Regions from separate parts of the Homo sapiens genome. Here region 1 is linked to region 2. Evidence: promoter capture Hi-C in human tissues and cell types (Jung and others, 2019). All regions are on one chromosome and are shown on one strand. Each heading gives the region's core, a stretch centred on a gene start or on the middle of the fragment in contact. The rest is flanking DNA. Distances are from core to core; before and after follow the strand shown. Region 1 holds the start of MAP3K14 (mitogen-activated protein kinase kinase kinase 14). Region 2 holds the start of MAPT (microtubule associated protein tau).

What was found. The method cuts DNA at HindIII sites, captures the fragments that hold promoters and counts their contacts. A contact is called where the count stands out against the background at its distance.
Region 1: a fragment that was not itself captured here is called in contact with the fragment with the promoter of MAPT in region 2 in 1 of the 25 tissues and cell types used here (aorta).

The regions. Positions count from the first base shown.
Region 1 is chr17:45,314,171-45,320,667 of GRCh38, reverse strand. It overlaps MAP3K14 (mitogen-activated protein kinase kinase kinase 14), which reads left to right and starts at 3,648. Exons shown (of 16, transcript NM_003954.5): 1 at 3,648-3,708. The HindIII fragment of the contact is 4,566 bases long and covers 2,065-6,497 here.
Region 2 is chr17:45,892,329-45,898,891 of GRCh38, reverse strand. It overlaps MAPT (microtubule associated protein tau), which reads right to left and starts at 4,338. Exons shown (of 13, transcript NM_001377265.1): 1 at 4,206-4,338. MAPT-AS1 (MAPT antisense RNA 1) reads left to right here and starts at 3,379. Exons shown (of 2, transcript NR_024559.1): 1 at 3,379-3,412. MAPT-IT1 (MAPT intronic transcript 1) reads right to left here and starts at 3,109. Exons shown (of 1, transcript NR_024560.1): 1 at 94-3,109. RefSeq lists enhancers at 853-1,737, 2,624-3,509, 3,510-4,395. The HindIII fragment of the contact is 9,010 bases long and covers 1-6,131 here.

The DNA of each region.
Region 1 (6,497 bases), core at 3,098-5,597, 580 kb after region 2:
ATCTAGCAATGTCCAGAGACATTTATTGTCACATTGGGTGGATGAGGGAGTGCTATAGGTATGTAGTAGACAGAGGCCAGGAAAGCTTTTAAACATCCTGCAATGCACAAGACAGCCCTGATGTGGTTTGGCTGTGGCCCCACCCAAATCTCACATTGAGGCCAGGCGCAGTGGCTCATGCCTATAATTCCAGCACTTTGGGAGGTTGAGGTGGGTGGATCACTTGAGTTCAAGACCTGCCTGGCTGACGTAGCAAAACCCCATCTCTACTAAAAATATAAAAATTAGCCGGGCATGGTGGTGCACACCTATAGTCCCAGCTACTCAGGAGGCTGAGGCACGAGAATCACTTGAACCCAAGAGGAGGAGGATGCAGTGAGCTGAGGTCGCGCCACTGCACTCCAGCCTGGGTGACACAGGGAGACTCCATCTCAAAAAAAAAAAAAAAAAAAAAAAATCTCATCTTGTAGCTCCCACAATTCCGTGTTGTGCAAGGGACCCAGTGGGAGATAATTGAATCACTGGAGCAGTTTCTCCCATACTGTTCTCATGGTAGTGCGTAAGTCTCATGAAATCTGATGTTTTTGTAAGGGTTTCCCCTTCACTTGGCTCTCATCATTCTCTCTTGTCTGCTGTCATGTAAGACATGCCTTTTGCCTTCTGCCATGATTGTGAGGCCTCCCCAGCCACATGGAACTGTGACTCCATTACACCTCTTTCCTTTATAAATTACCCCATCTCAGCTATGTCTTTATCAGCAGCGTGAAAACAGGCGAATACAAGCCCCGTCCCCCAACAATGAATTATCCAACCCCAAATGTCTATAGTGCCAGGCTGAGAAACCCTGGCCTAGAGGGAACATTCAGTGAGGTTATGCACATGAAGTACTCTAAGTCTATCTGGCTTACTTTTTGTAAAGTATCAGAAAACAAGCTGCGATTCTTTCGGAATAGCACAGTCTTAACGCTATTTCCAGACCTGAAATGGATGGGGTGTGAGAACCCTTGAGTACTGAGAACCTAGTTCACTGCTCCAGGTGTGAGTCATCCTGTAAATGTCAATTTCTTGTATTTAAAGCAGAGCTGAGGCTGCACAAGTGACTCAAGGCCAGAAGCTTTCCCAGGTTGTCTTGACTTAAGCTTGGAGGAAGTAATCTCGTCCCGAAGCTCTCCTTCCAGAGGGTGCAAGCATTTCAAGACTCAGAGACACCACACTGCTCACTCTGGGTAGGTGTATTGTTTCTCACCTCACCCACACACAGTGGGGCTTGGAAAGACCTCAGAAAAGTAGCTGAAACGGAGAGGCCTTGCTTATCCCGAATATCTTCCTTACCAGTGTTTAGTGGTTTGCTCCTCCCCTGCAACCTGATGTGACATTCCTTCTCCAGAGTTACAGTTTTGAGTCAACACAGTTCACTGTCTCTGATTAATACACATTAATGTTCAGGGACGGACTTAAAGACAGATCATCTTGATGGGGTAGGTGGGAGTGTACAGGGGACCCAGGACCAGAGGTGTCAAGGGAACCTGGGCAAAGTACAGAGACACTGGGTGTTTTAAAGAAGGAATAGTGAAAGAGAGAGAAGGCAAAGGCAAGCCAGGGAGTGTCTGCAGACTCTGGAGGTGTGCCCACATCTTTCCTGAGAAGTGGTGTGCCCAGAGGCAAACAGGTGGTGGGAGAGGCAATAAGGGCATCCAAGATTGCCGATACCAACCTGTACATCTGGCCAAGCTCTGCCTTTCCCTGAGTCACTGAAATGCAAAACCCTAGGGGTGGAAAGAGATTTGGGGGCCACCAGTCCAGCTTCTTTCTTGTCTGCCATCTCCCAGCTAGTCAGTGGCAGAGCCAGGGTGGGCGCCAGAGACTGTTTGGCTCTAAAGCACGGACTCTACGGGAGCCACAACCTCAAATGCTCCAGGGGCCAGACAGGTGACATAAGGTTAGATGGTTGGGTGGCGGGAACTGTAAGGAACCGCAGGCTCTGCTCTAAGGCATTCAAATTCAAATTTAAAAAAATATTGGGCCAGCCAAACAAAGCATATTTCTGGCCTGGGTGAGTGAATGAGGCCCTCAGGTTGTGAGTTTTTGACCACTGCCTAAATAAATGGTCTTCCCTATTCCCCAGCAGAGATGACTGTTTGGCACAGATATCCAGAAAGAAGAGTTCAGCTTCGGACTGTCTGCAAAGTAGTCTCAAGCAGATGGTGGTCTTTGCTCAAACACTTCCAGAGATGGGGTGTTCCTTACTTTTCAAGACAGCCTTGGGTGGGGCCTGCCTATCCCCGGACTAGAGCCACTCACCACACCTACCATGGACCCTTCATGGAAGTGGGATGCCCAGGGTAGGAGTACATCTTTTATTTTGCAATAAAAAAAAAAGTTTGGATTTTTTTTTTAAAGGACTGCCTCACTCTGTTACCCAGGCTGGAGTGCAGTGGCACGATCATGGCTCACTGTAACCTCAGACTCTCAGCCTCCCCTCTAGCTGGGACTGCAAGTGCAAACTACCACGCCTGGCTATTCTTTTATTTTTTTGCAAGGACGAGGTCCTTGCTATATTGCCCAGGATGTTCTCCAACTCCTGGCCTCAAGCGATCCTCCTGCCTTTGCCTCCCAAAAGCGCTGGGATTACAGGAGTGAGCCACCGTGCCTGGCCTGGAATTTATTACAAATAAAATACAAGCTCAGTGTGGAAACACTAGATAATACAGAGGGGCAAAAGTTAGAAAAAGTTTCTATACCTTCCCTACTCCCCACCCCCGACCCCCATTCAGAAAGAAGCACTGTTGACACTTCAATGCATATTCTGAACTCCAGGTCCTTTCTTTGCATACATCAAGCTCTCATCCTCTTGCTGGCTCTGTGGTCTGCAAACCCAGAGAGCAGATGCTTTGCTCAGCGCTCGTACCACGCCACGCACCCACATGCTCTCTTTGTACCTGGGTTTCAACCCACAGGTCGGGCCCCTGTAAGCCCTTGGCTCCCCAAGCTTCTCGAGGGCAGGCACTGTAACCTTCTTTACTCATTCCAGGGATTCTACAGGACCAGGCACACGGTAAGAGCTCAATAAAAACGTCTCTACCCCCACCACCTCCCGCCTCAGCCGCCACCGCTTGGCAGCAGAGAGGAAGCGGAACGCGCGCGACCCACGAGGGAGAGCGCCTCGCTGTCTCCAAGGTAACCGAAGTCAGTGGCAGGGAGTGCCCACGCATGCGCACACTCGCCCTTCCTTCCCGTAACCTCGAGAACGCAGCTGGTAAGACTGCCAGAAGCCGAGGGCGCATGTGTGGTTCCACCAACACCCTAGTCGCCTCCGCCTTCTGTCAGTCCGCCCGCCCAGCGATCTCCCTTCTACAAACATCGTCCGGAAATAGTGCCCATTTCTGGAAACCAGGCCTCGTTAACCAATCGTTGCTAGGGAGCGGGAAGACGGGCTTGCCGGGACGACCGTCTCATTGGTTGGCGTAGGGGAGTGGGCGGGGCCACGGGTCGCGGTGCGGCCAAAGAAAGGAGGCGCGAAGCGAGGCAAAGTTACAGCCTCCGGGGGAGGCGTGGCCCCGGGGGCGGCCGAGAAGGCGAGGGGGCGGAGCCCGGGACCGGGGCGGGGCGACCACGGGCCGGGAGCTCAGCGGTCGGCGGCCGGCGGCGGGAGATCGCGGGCGAGCGGAGCGCAACACTCGCTTGGTTGGGGAGATCGGCGCTTGGCCGGTAGGTGACGGGGCGGGACCCTGGGGCCCGGTGCGAGGCGACCAGGGAGCGGCTGGGATGGATCGCCTCTCAGCCCCGGGCTGGGCTGCGGCCTGGCCCCTCGCCCCGGAGCAGTGGGGTCGGCGGCCAGGCCAGCGCAGTCCGACGTACCCCGTCCAACCCACTCGCAGCGGTCCGCGGGCGCGCCCTCGCACGCGCTGCCGGTGCCGCGCTCGCCCCGGGCCTCCAGGCCGCGCACTCCTGCTGGCCACACGCTGGCTCCGAGCGCGCGCAGGGGCCGCCTGCTTCCCCTTCACTAGTGCCCCGCGCCGCCGCCAGGCCCGCCCGCCTGCTCTGCGCCCCAGTGCCCCCAGGATGGAGCTCGCCTGCCGCGGGGCGGACGTGTCTCCTGCAGGAGTGCGCCCTGGCATCTGCCCTGGCGTGAAACCCTCCCGGCCTTTCATGGGAAGTTCTCAGGTCACACCTCAAGGCGGGGAGCAGGAGCTAAGCCTGTCCTCAGCATGCAGCGGGGCAGTGCTGGCCGCCCGCAGCATCCTCCCTCCGCCCTCGGACCCCAGTCCTCCTCTGTAATTCTTCTGGGCTCTCCAACTCGGGACTTTATCTGTCGGTTCAAATATAACATTCCCATCTTGGAAACCCATCGTGGCCCTGGCATCTTGCAGCCACTGGGCACCAGGCAGAGAGGGGCCACTTGTACGTACGTTTCCCACCTGCCCGGGAGCCTCCTTAGTGCTGGGTAGCTTCAGAAAAAGTGTTTCCTTCCTAGTCGAGGTTAAAAAGTTGCTCTCGGCCCTAAAGGGTGGACTGGAGGTATGAATGAGGGAGAGGATAAGTGGTGAAAAGGTACATACATCAGCAAAGTAAATGGTAAAACTACTTTTGATCGCTGGAGACAATGAACACCAATGACTTAATTAAGGACTTTAAAAGCACATGAAATTAAATGATTAGAGTGAGGTCATGATATAAAATAGGAGTCTGGAGTTTATTCCAAGAAAAATGTTGGAAACCCCTTGACTAGAAACATGGTCTTTCTGAAAGATTAGAAGGAGACAGTATCTTAACATTAGTGATGTGTTTTTTGCTTAGTGTCTTCATACCTGTGAGCTCCGTTTTCCTTCAGATGGCTGTGTGGTAAGACAGATTGTAGTGTCTTGTTTTATGGGCGAGGCACCTGAGGCAGGTGTGTATGAGGGAGTGGGGGTGGTATATATCTTGCCTGATGCCTCATAGCTGGGACTAAGGATGGGTCTTTCCCAGAATCCTAGATCAGGACCACATTATAGAACTGAGATGCAGAAAGGAGGGAGAAGTTTTTGGTGTGGTTTTTATGCTCTTAATGTGAGAGGACACTTAAAAAGTGCTTGCCTTACTTTGGTTGTGTTTGGATTTACTCTTGGTGTTTTTTAAGTGATATCAATCAGTTTCTTTGGAGCGATGCCAGACCTCTGAATTTTTCAGACACCTTTCGGACATCCTTATTTATTTTGAAGGGTGTGGAGAACTTCTCAGAAGATCTCAAAATAAAAGTAATCGTCTCTGACTCTAATTTTAGAGATAAGTACCCAGGTATGTGTACCAGCTCTTTGTGAAATCAGACAGCAAGACGCTGCCAAGCTTCAGGCCATCTTCTGAGTGTTTTCTGATTATAAGAAGCAGTTCTGAAGGGGGTTTTTTGTCATTGGTATTGTCTGTTAAGAGTTTGTGGGAGCGGCACCACAGAGACCCTGCCAAATCAGTCTCCCTCTATTAAACAAAAATGTCTGGTTGGGCTGTTTCGCCTCAACAGATGAAGGTTTGGTTCCTCATTTTGGTTCTCCTGTTGAACACTGACTCCTTTGTGATCTGCCTGGAATATGTGTATATCATTTACTGCTGAGAAGATGGCTTGCGCTGATTGGTTGTCCAGCCCTCGGCAACTGTTGTGATTTTTTTTTTTTTTTTGGTGATTGATAACAGTTCATCCCTGGCTAGGGTCTGGTGAGAGATCTGCGGAGATGTGAAAGAGATGAAAGCTTTATCCAGGGTTGTTTTCTTCGTTGTTGGCACCCTCTGAACAGTGTTGTATCACTTTGGCCTGTGAAGGCACTTTTAACTTCCTATTTTTTTTCCTGTCTCAATGGACAGCACATGGGCTTTCCTAACAAGCCTGCCTGCCTCGATGAAGAGCTGACAGATTCATATTGGTTGGTTTGACAGATGTTCTTTCTGGGGGGAAAGTTCAGAAATCTTAAAAGCAAAGTCAGTCCTAAGTAAAAAGTCTAAGTCAGCCCAATACGCATAAAGGCAGCGTACTTCTACTAATGGCTTCCATCATCTCAAGGTTGTTTTTTTTTTTTTCCTGGCAAAAGGTTAAAATGCAACTAAAATTCTGCTTTCGTGATTAATAAGTCACTACCACAGTTGTGTCTGATGCTTCCTGTTTGCCCCATTTTAGTATTTCAGTTAAACTGGAAACATCTGAGCATTATGGGCACTATTGATGGCACCAGTGTGAAATTGGTGGGCCGGGGACAATTCCATGTCAGTGGATTTAGGGAGCTCTAAGGATGTCAGCCCCTCTGGTCTCCACACACCAGGATTCCCTAGTAAGGGAACAGAATGGGGCTGAGCATCTGCAAGAGCTGGGTGGGCATTCAAAGTGATGCATGTGTGAAGGTTTTGCATTTACTCGGTGATGCTGGCTAAAATGCTGAAAGTAGTAGCCCAAAAAGGGAAGGCCAGACGTAGGGCAAATTGTAGGGGAGCATTTCTGTTGAGCTGAGCAGGACATTGAAGTATGAGATTTT
Region 2 (6,563 bases), core at 3,089-5,588:
GAGTCAAACGCAGTTTCCCACCTGCTTCCCACTGTATTTCCCCATTTATCCTTCATGGATAAAATCCATTTGGTATGGACCGAATACCTCTTGTATGTCTAGCACTGTATTAGGCCCCTACGGCTGTTTTTATTTGTTTTTGAGTGATTCTTTTTCAAGGAGGGAGTAAGGAAGATGCTAAATAAATACATCAATAGAAGGCAAGGTCCAGTTGGAAAATTATCACATGTCCAATTGGAAAAATAACACGTGTTCGTACATATAGCCACAGAGCTACTGAAACCACACACATAAATGCTGAGGGAAAGTGGAATAAAACAGTTTCTTTAAATTTTCAACAAATGGACTGTAACAACAGATGTTAAAAAGGCAGAAGGAAAACCACAATCTTATCCCATCTCCAGGCTGGCACCGACCTCCAAGGGCATGAGGGTCAAAGGGCACGTTTAATAGAAAGGCCACTTTTTCCAACCGGAATAAATCTAACCTTTCCTCAATCAAAGCGATTCTAAGTTTTCTAACAATTTATGGGCAGTATCCATTTCTTTTGTTCCTGTCGGAGGAGCAATGCCTGATATTAGAAACCACTTAAAAGTCACGCCCTTCCAGCAGGAACAGTCATGGACTGTCACTCATCCAAAACCCAGCAAAGCCAACAAGCCCCTTCCCCAAATCGTCCAAAGGTGAACCCAAGAGCCAAGCCAGGTTATTGCTATATAAACATCTGTTAGAGAAGCAAACTTGGCCAAGGAATGTATGAGCTTCAAGAGTCACTCCGGACCTGCGTAGCAGGGGTGGGGGCAGGGGATACACTTATCTGTTTATCCATTAATTTGTTTACGTAGAGGGAGGATTTGGAGATGCTTATACAGTAAATATAAGCAGCTTATACAGTAATTATAATACAATGCTTATACAGTAAATACAATGCTTATACAGTAAATATAAGCAGCCATCACAAAACACAAAATGACACCCCAGAATCAACCGCGGTAGGAAAGACATTTCCCTGTCTCCTGTAGGATGGGTCAGTTAAGGGGCCGAGGGGGATCAGATAGAACTCAAATTGGTCCTGCTGAGCCTGGAGCCTGAGCACGCAGAGGGGTGAGCTAGGCAGTCGCTGTCGGAGCCCCCATCATCCCTTCCAGCCTGGACCATTCTGAGACGGAGGTTTGGAGTTACAGGTGTGTGAGCGCCAGAGGGTGAGAGGGGTCACTCGCTCGGAATGTAAGAGCTCCCGCCTGCTGGGAATGGGGAGGAGTCGTCGATGGCCCCAGGATCCGTGCCCAGACATTTCCAGAGGCGCACCGGCTGGTTCAGCACCCCACCGTCATCCGCGCAAAAGCTGCATCCCTCGAGGTCCTGGAGGGAAGCCATTTCCTTAAAGCGCGCGCAGAGCCAGGATAGAGTTTCCTACGAAGGACCGTCCCCCTGAGGTTCCTCCATTAACAGCGCCCCCGGCCTTGCCCACCGCAGCGGCCCCACCAAAGCGCCAACACATTTCAAAATGGAGCGAAATCGCAGAAGCGCGGAGTGCGCTTTGTTCCCAGCATTGGGCTAAATGCGCTCATCCCCACCGGGCTCCCTTTCCTCCAAAGGCAGGAGGTGACATCTCTGCTCGCGAGATGGCAATACGTAGCCGTGGCCGCGGGCTCCCCTTTTCCGGGGCCACCCCGAGACCCTCGCTCCATCTGGAAGGGGAACCCCGCGCCCAGCTCTGTCTGGGGGCGAGGGAGGAGAGACGATGCTTGAATCGATCCCTGAGCCGCTCTGCAACCCCTCGCGGCGGGCCCAGCCATGCGAGGAGCCTCGCAGTACCCAGGCTCCAGCCCTCTACGCCACCGTCAAGGAGGGTCGGCCTGGTCCCGGGCGGGCAGCCAAGCCATTCCCCAGAAATTCAGATCAACCTGGGCGACCCGCGTGGAGGATTCAGCTCCTAGATGCTCTTCCGTCTCAGAAGTGCGCCCCCCGCACCAGTTTTCAGCGATAGAATTAACCAGAAAACCGTGCGTACCAGGTTCATCACAGGAGGGCGAGGCATGGATTCGTTGGCCAGGAGTTCCCCCTGCCGCCCCAGACTCGGTTTTGGGGGCGCGGTGAACTTGGACACGGGTGAAATTTATTTAAGATAAATAATATTAATCAGTACGGACATAATATTAATAAAAATACACCCAGGGCCGCCTATCTGCGTGTCTGCGGCCTCCAGGGGCCAATCAGAAACAGCCTCAGGCGCGGGGGTTCGGGGCTTCCTCCCGTGTCCTCCAGGAGGCCGACTGGGCGCGGCTCCCCCTACCCCAGGGTCCCCAATCTCCGCAGGGAAGGGGTGAGGCCAGCCCCAAGATCCCCTCTCCGGACACCTGTGGTTTCCATGGCAATCCCCCCTCTGCGCCCAGTCCAGTGGGCTCAGAAAGATGGGTGTGGCCGAAGCACCAGTAACCTTATGCCCCTTCCTCACATTCTCCGGCCAGGCGAAGCAACAGGGCGTAAAGCCGGAGAGGCCCCGCCAGGGCTCCCCACCCATCCCCGGATGGGTAGCCAGCGTCCCTCGCTGGGCAACCTGGTGTGGCGTGGCCCTCAGGACACTTGGGGTGTAGGGAGGGGCGAGATCCCTCTGCCGCCGCCCGCAGCGCGCACGGAGACTCGAATCCCATCCCTTCAGAAGCTTCCCGGCGCCGGCAGACTCCGAGACGAGGCTGCGCGCGGTCACGCCCGTTCCATGCGTGCCGGGGGTCGGGGGGTTGACTCGAGTTCATCGAACCCAGCAAGCCTCGAGATCCAACAATGGGCTCGGAAATGAGGAGCGAAAAAGGAAAGAGAGGCGCATGGGCGTAGGGGGGAGGTTGACTGAACACCCTCAGAATAAAAGCCAGAAACCAGGGCTGGGAGCGCAGATCACGTAACCTCTACAGACAAAGCAAAGAGCCCCCGAAGAAGGTGCTGGGCGAACGCCCCCAGTGCTCACGCCCGCAGCAGCAAAACGCCAAGATTTCAGCGCTGATTGTCCCCCTCCCTTTAATGCCAGGCCCCGCCCTGTCCTATGAAGCCCGGCCACCCGGTTTGGCATGGCACCGTAAAGACGTGACACGCCGAAAAAAGATGGCACCTCGCGTTCCGAGGGGGAAAAAAAGGGGGGCTGGGGGCGGGAGTGGGAGGAGGCACAGCCTATCCTCCCCCTTCCTCGCCCACCAGGGTCCACACCCACTGCCGCAGTGAGGGGCGAGCCCTGCGCGCCAGCCCCGCGCCTCCGGCAGGGAGCGCACACGCCGGGCGCCCTGCGCTCCGAGCGCTGAGAAAGAAATCCGCCCCGAGATGCACCTGCAGCCCCGCGCCCATCCGTGCGTGGCTGCGGCTGTGCGTGCCCGCGAACGGGGACCAGCGGCCGCCGAGTCCGTCCACATCGCCAGGCCAGGTGAACCCTGCCTTTGCGAGCGTGCACAGTGGGATCCGCGCACTGTTCTCAGGCACGGCGCTGCTCGCGTCTCTGTGCCAGGCGTGCGCAGGGGGAAGGGCAACTAAAGTGACAGCGCGTGGACCCCTCCCCATCTCCTCGATTTCTCCCAGCCCCCAAATGTCCCCTACGGGTTTCTGAAGGAGGAAAAGGGGAGGGGGCCGGCCCCCGCCTAAAATCAGGGGCAGTGAAGGCCCTGTCGGAATCACTGCTCGGGAGGTGCAGGGAGGGGCGTGCAGGGAGTCATCTTTTCTAGAACCCGATCCACGTCTTTCTTAGAGCTGATGGCGAACAGCGGCAGGGACAGCGGATTTCAGATTCGGTTTCGGGGGTCGTTATCGGACCCCTCCACACACACACACACACACACACACACACACACACACACACACGCCCATTGCGGCAAAAGGCTGCAGTCGAGAGTGAAGGGCAGCCCCCTCCCCCAAGTCACCGCCGCCGCGCCCCACCCTGCCGGCACAGCCTCCACCTGGGGTCTGCGCGAATCTGGTGGTGAAGACCCTCCAGCACACACACACGCGCGCACTCACGCGTGCGTGCATCCCTTGCTCAGGTCCCTTTCCAGGCCGCCCTGGCCCCAGCCCCCGAGCAGGGGAGGCAGGGAGGGGCCCTGCGGTGGCCCCGACCGATGCCCGGCGCACGAAGCCCCAGTCTGCGGAGAGGGAGGGCGAGGGGCGGCGGCGCAGGGGTGCACAGAGGCGGACGGCGAGGCAGATTTCGGAGCCGCGGCGCTTACCTGATAGTCGACAGAGGCGAGGACGGGAGAGGACAGCGGAGGAGGAGAAGGTGGCTGTGGTGGCGGCGGCAGAAGGTGGGCGGTGGCAGCGGCGCTGCTGTTGGTGCCGGAGCTGGTGGGTGGCGGTGACTGCGAGGGCGCGCGCCGGCGAAGAGGGCGCGTTCCTGAGGCCGGCGGGCGGCGCAGGCGCGAGCAGCGGGAACGCGAGCCTCCCCAGGGGAGGGGGCGGGCAGCGCGGCCTCCGCGGGAGCCTTCTCCTCCGGCCACTAGTGGGCGCGCGCGAGCGCCCTGCCGCTCGGCCGTCCGGCGTCTCCCGGCTCGTTCCTCTCGGCGCTGCCCTTTCGCGGTCCCCCTCCCGCTACGCCTCAGGCCGCGGCGCTGACCGCAGCGCGCACGCGCGTTCCGTGGCGCACGCGCTTTCTCCACCTCCTGTAGTTGGAGTCTTTGTGTCGTTGCGGGGGTGGGTGTCCTCCTTCGGGCCATGCGGGGTCGGGGCAAGGCCAGTGGCTCCGCCGCTGGGTCCGCTGCCCTTTACTTTCAGTCAGCCTGGGGCGGTGTCCTCTCCTACAGAAGTCCTGAGCGGCCTTCCACGTGGCCGGCCCTCGAGTCCGTCCGCCCCGACCCTTCGTAGTCCCGAAACCGCCCCCCTGGCTAAGGTCTCTTTCCCCCAGGCTGCTTCCTTTCTCCTTGCTTTTTTCCCACCTTTTTTGTTACTGACCAAGGTGAATCCTTTCCTTAACAAATCGGCTTAAAGCAAGCTAACTCAGTTACAATACAGTAGAACTGTACTTAAAAAAAAAGAAACGTGAATCTAACCGTTACGTCAGAAAAAAAAATCTTAAATTAGACGAATTTCAAACAGTGCTTAACACATCGCAGAGCATTTGCAGTTATTTGTATCACGTCTTTTGAAACACCTTTATGCTGTAAATAGAGCTTGAAGTCTGAATGTTTAAGGGCCAGCTAGAGATTGTCCCCTGGAAGACGCACCTCAGCCTGAAACTGACCAGTGGTCCTCATTCTGCTGGTCGCCCAGGCCCCAGGCTTCGGCCTTAGCTTGGATTTTTCATTTCCCCAACATCAAGTTTAAGCCCAAGCAGTGGGATGATTTCTATGTAGGGGGGTTTAGGGCAGCCATCTCCTCCTAGGGAGATGGGAAGTTGTCTTGAAGCTCCAATTTGCATAGCTCTTATATTCTTTTTAAAAAATCAACATATGTTATAGATTAATAGAAAAAGCAAGTAAAATGCTTTATTCACACAGTTTCTGGAACTGACCTTTTTCTCCTTTTTTTTTTTAAATGCATATTAACTTTATTTTTAAACAGAGGGGCATATACCCAAAGAAGTAGGAGTGAGAACCACCATGGGGGCTTGCTCAAAGCAATCTGCCCTAGCCTTCTGACTACAGAATGTCTCATGAGCCAATGGCCTGGAGATGGAGCTGCCCCTTGATGGTGTACACCTTAGAAAAGTCAGTGGAATTGACCTTTTTTTGGAGACAAGGTCTTGCTCAGGCTGGAGTGCAGTGGCACAATCGTAGCTCACGGCAAGCTTGAACTCCTGGGGCTCAAGCAATCTTCCCACCTCAGCCTTCTGAGTTGCTGGGACTACAGGTGGGCACCACCACACCTGGCTAACTTTTTTTTTTTTTTTTTTTTAGAGAGGAGGTCTTGCAGTGTTGCCCAGGCTGCTTTCTAACTCCCACCTCAGCCTCCCAAAGCGTTGGGATTACAGGCATGAGCCACTGCACTCAGCCTGGAATTGACTTTTTGTTGTTGTTGTTCTAACTGCCACCATCCTAGTTCAAGACCTCTATCTTGGTTCTGGACATGTAGGGACCTTAGTGATCTCCTTGCTCTCCAGTTTCTCCCTATATCAGCCCACCCTGCAACCCCTAGTTAGATCAGTATTCAGAAGTGATCATTTTATTTATTTATTTTTGGTTTTTTGTGTGTGTTTGTTTTGTTTTTTTGAGATGGAGTCTCGCTCTGTTGCCCAGGCTGGAGTGCAGTGGCACGATCTCGGCTCACTGCAACCTGTTTCCCGGGTTCAAGCGATTTTCCTGTCTCAGCCTCCCAGCTACTGGGATTACAGGCATATGCCACCACTCCCGGCTAATTTTTGTATTTTTAGTAGGACGGGATTTCACCATGTTGGCCAGGCTGGTCTCGATCTCCTGACCTCAGGTGACCCAAGCTCCTCAGCCTCCCAAAGTGCTGGGATTACAGGTGTGAGCCACCACACCTGGCCCAGATCATTTTAATTATGTCACTCTCTTGCTCAAAAATATGTAAAAGCTTCTAACTGCCTCCTAAATTAAGTTCAACCCCTTAGTTTAGCTTTCAAGTGTCCCCCC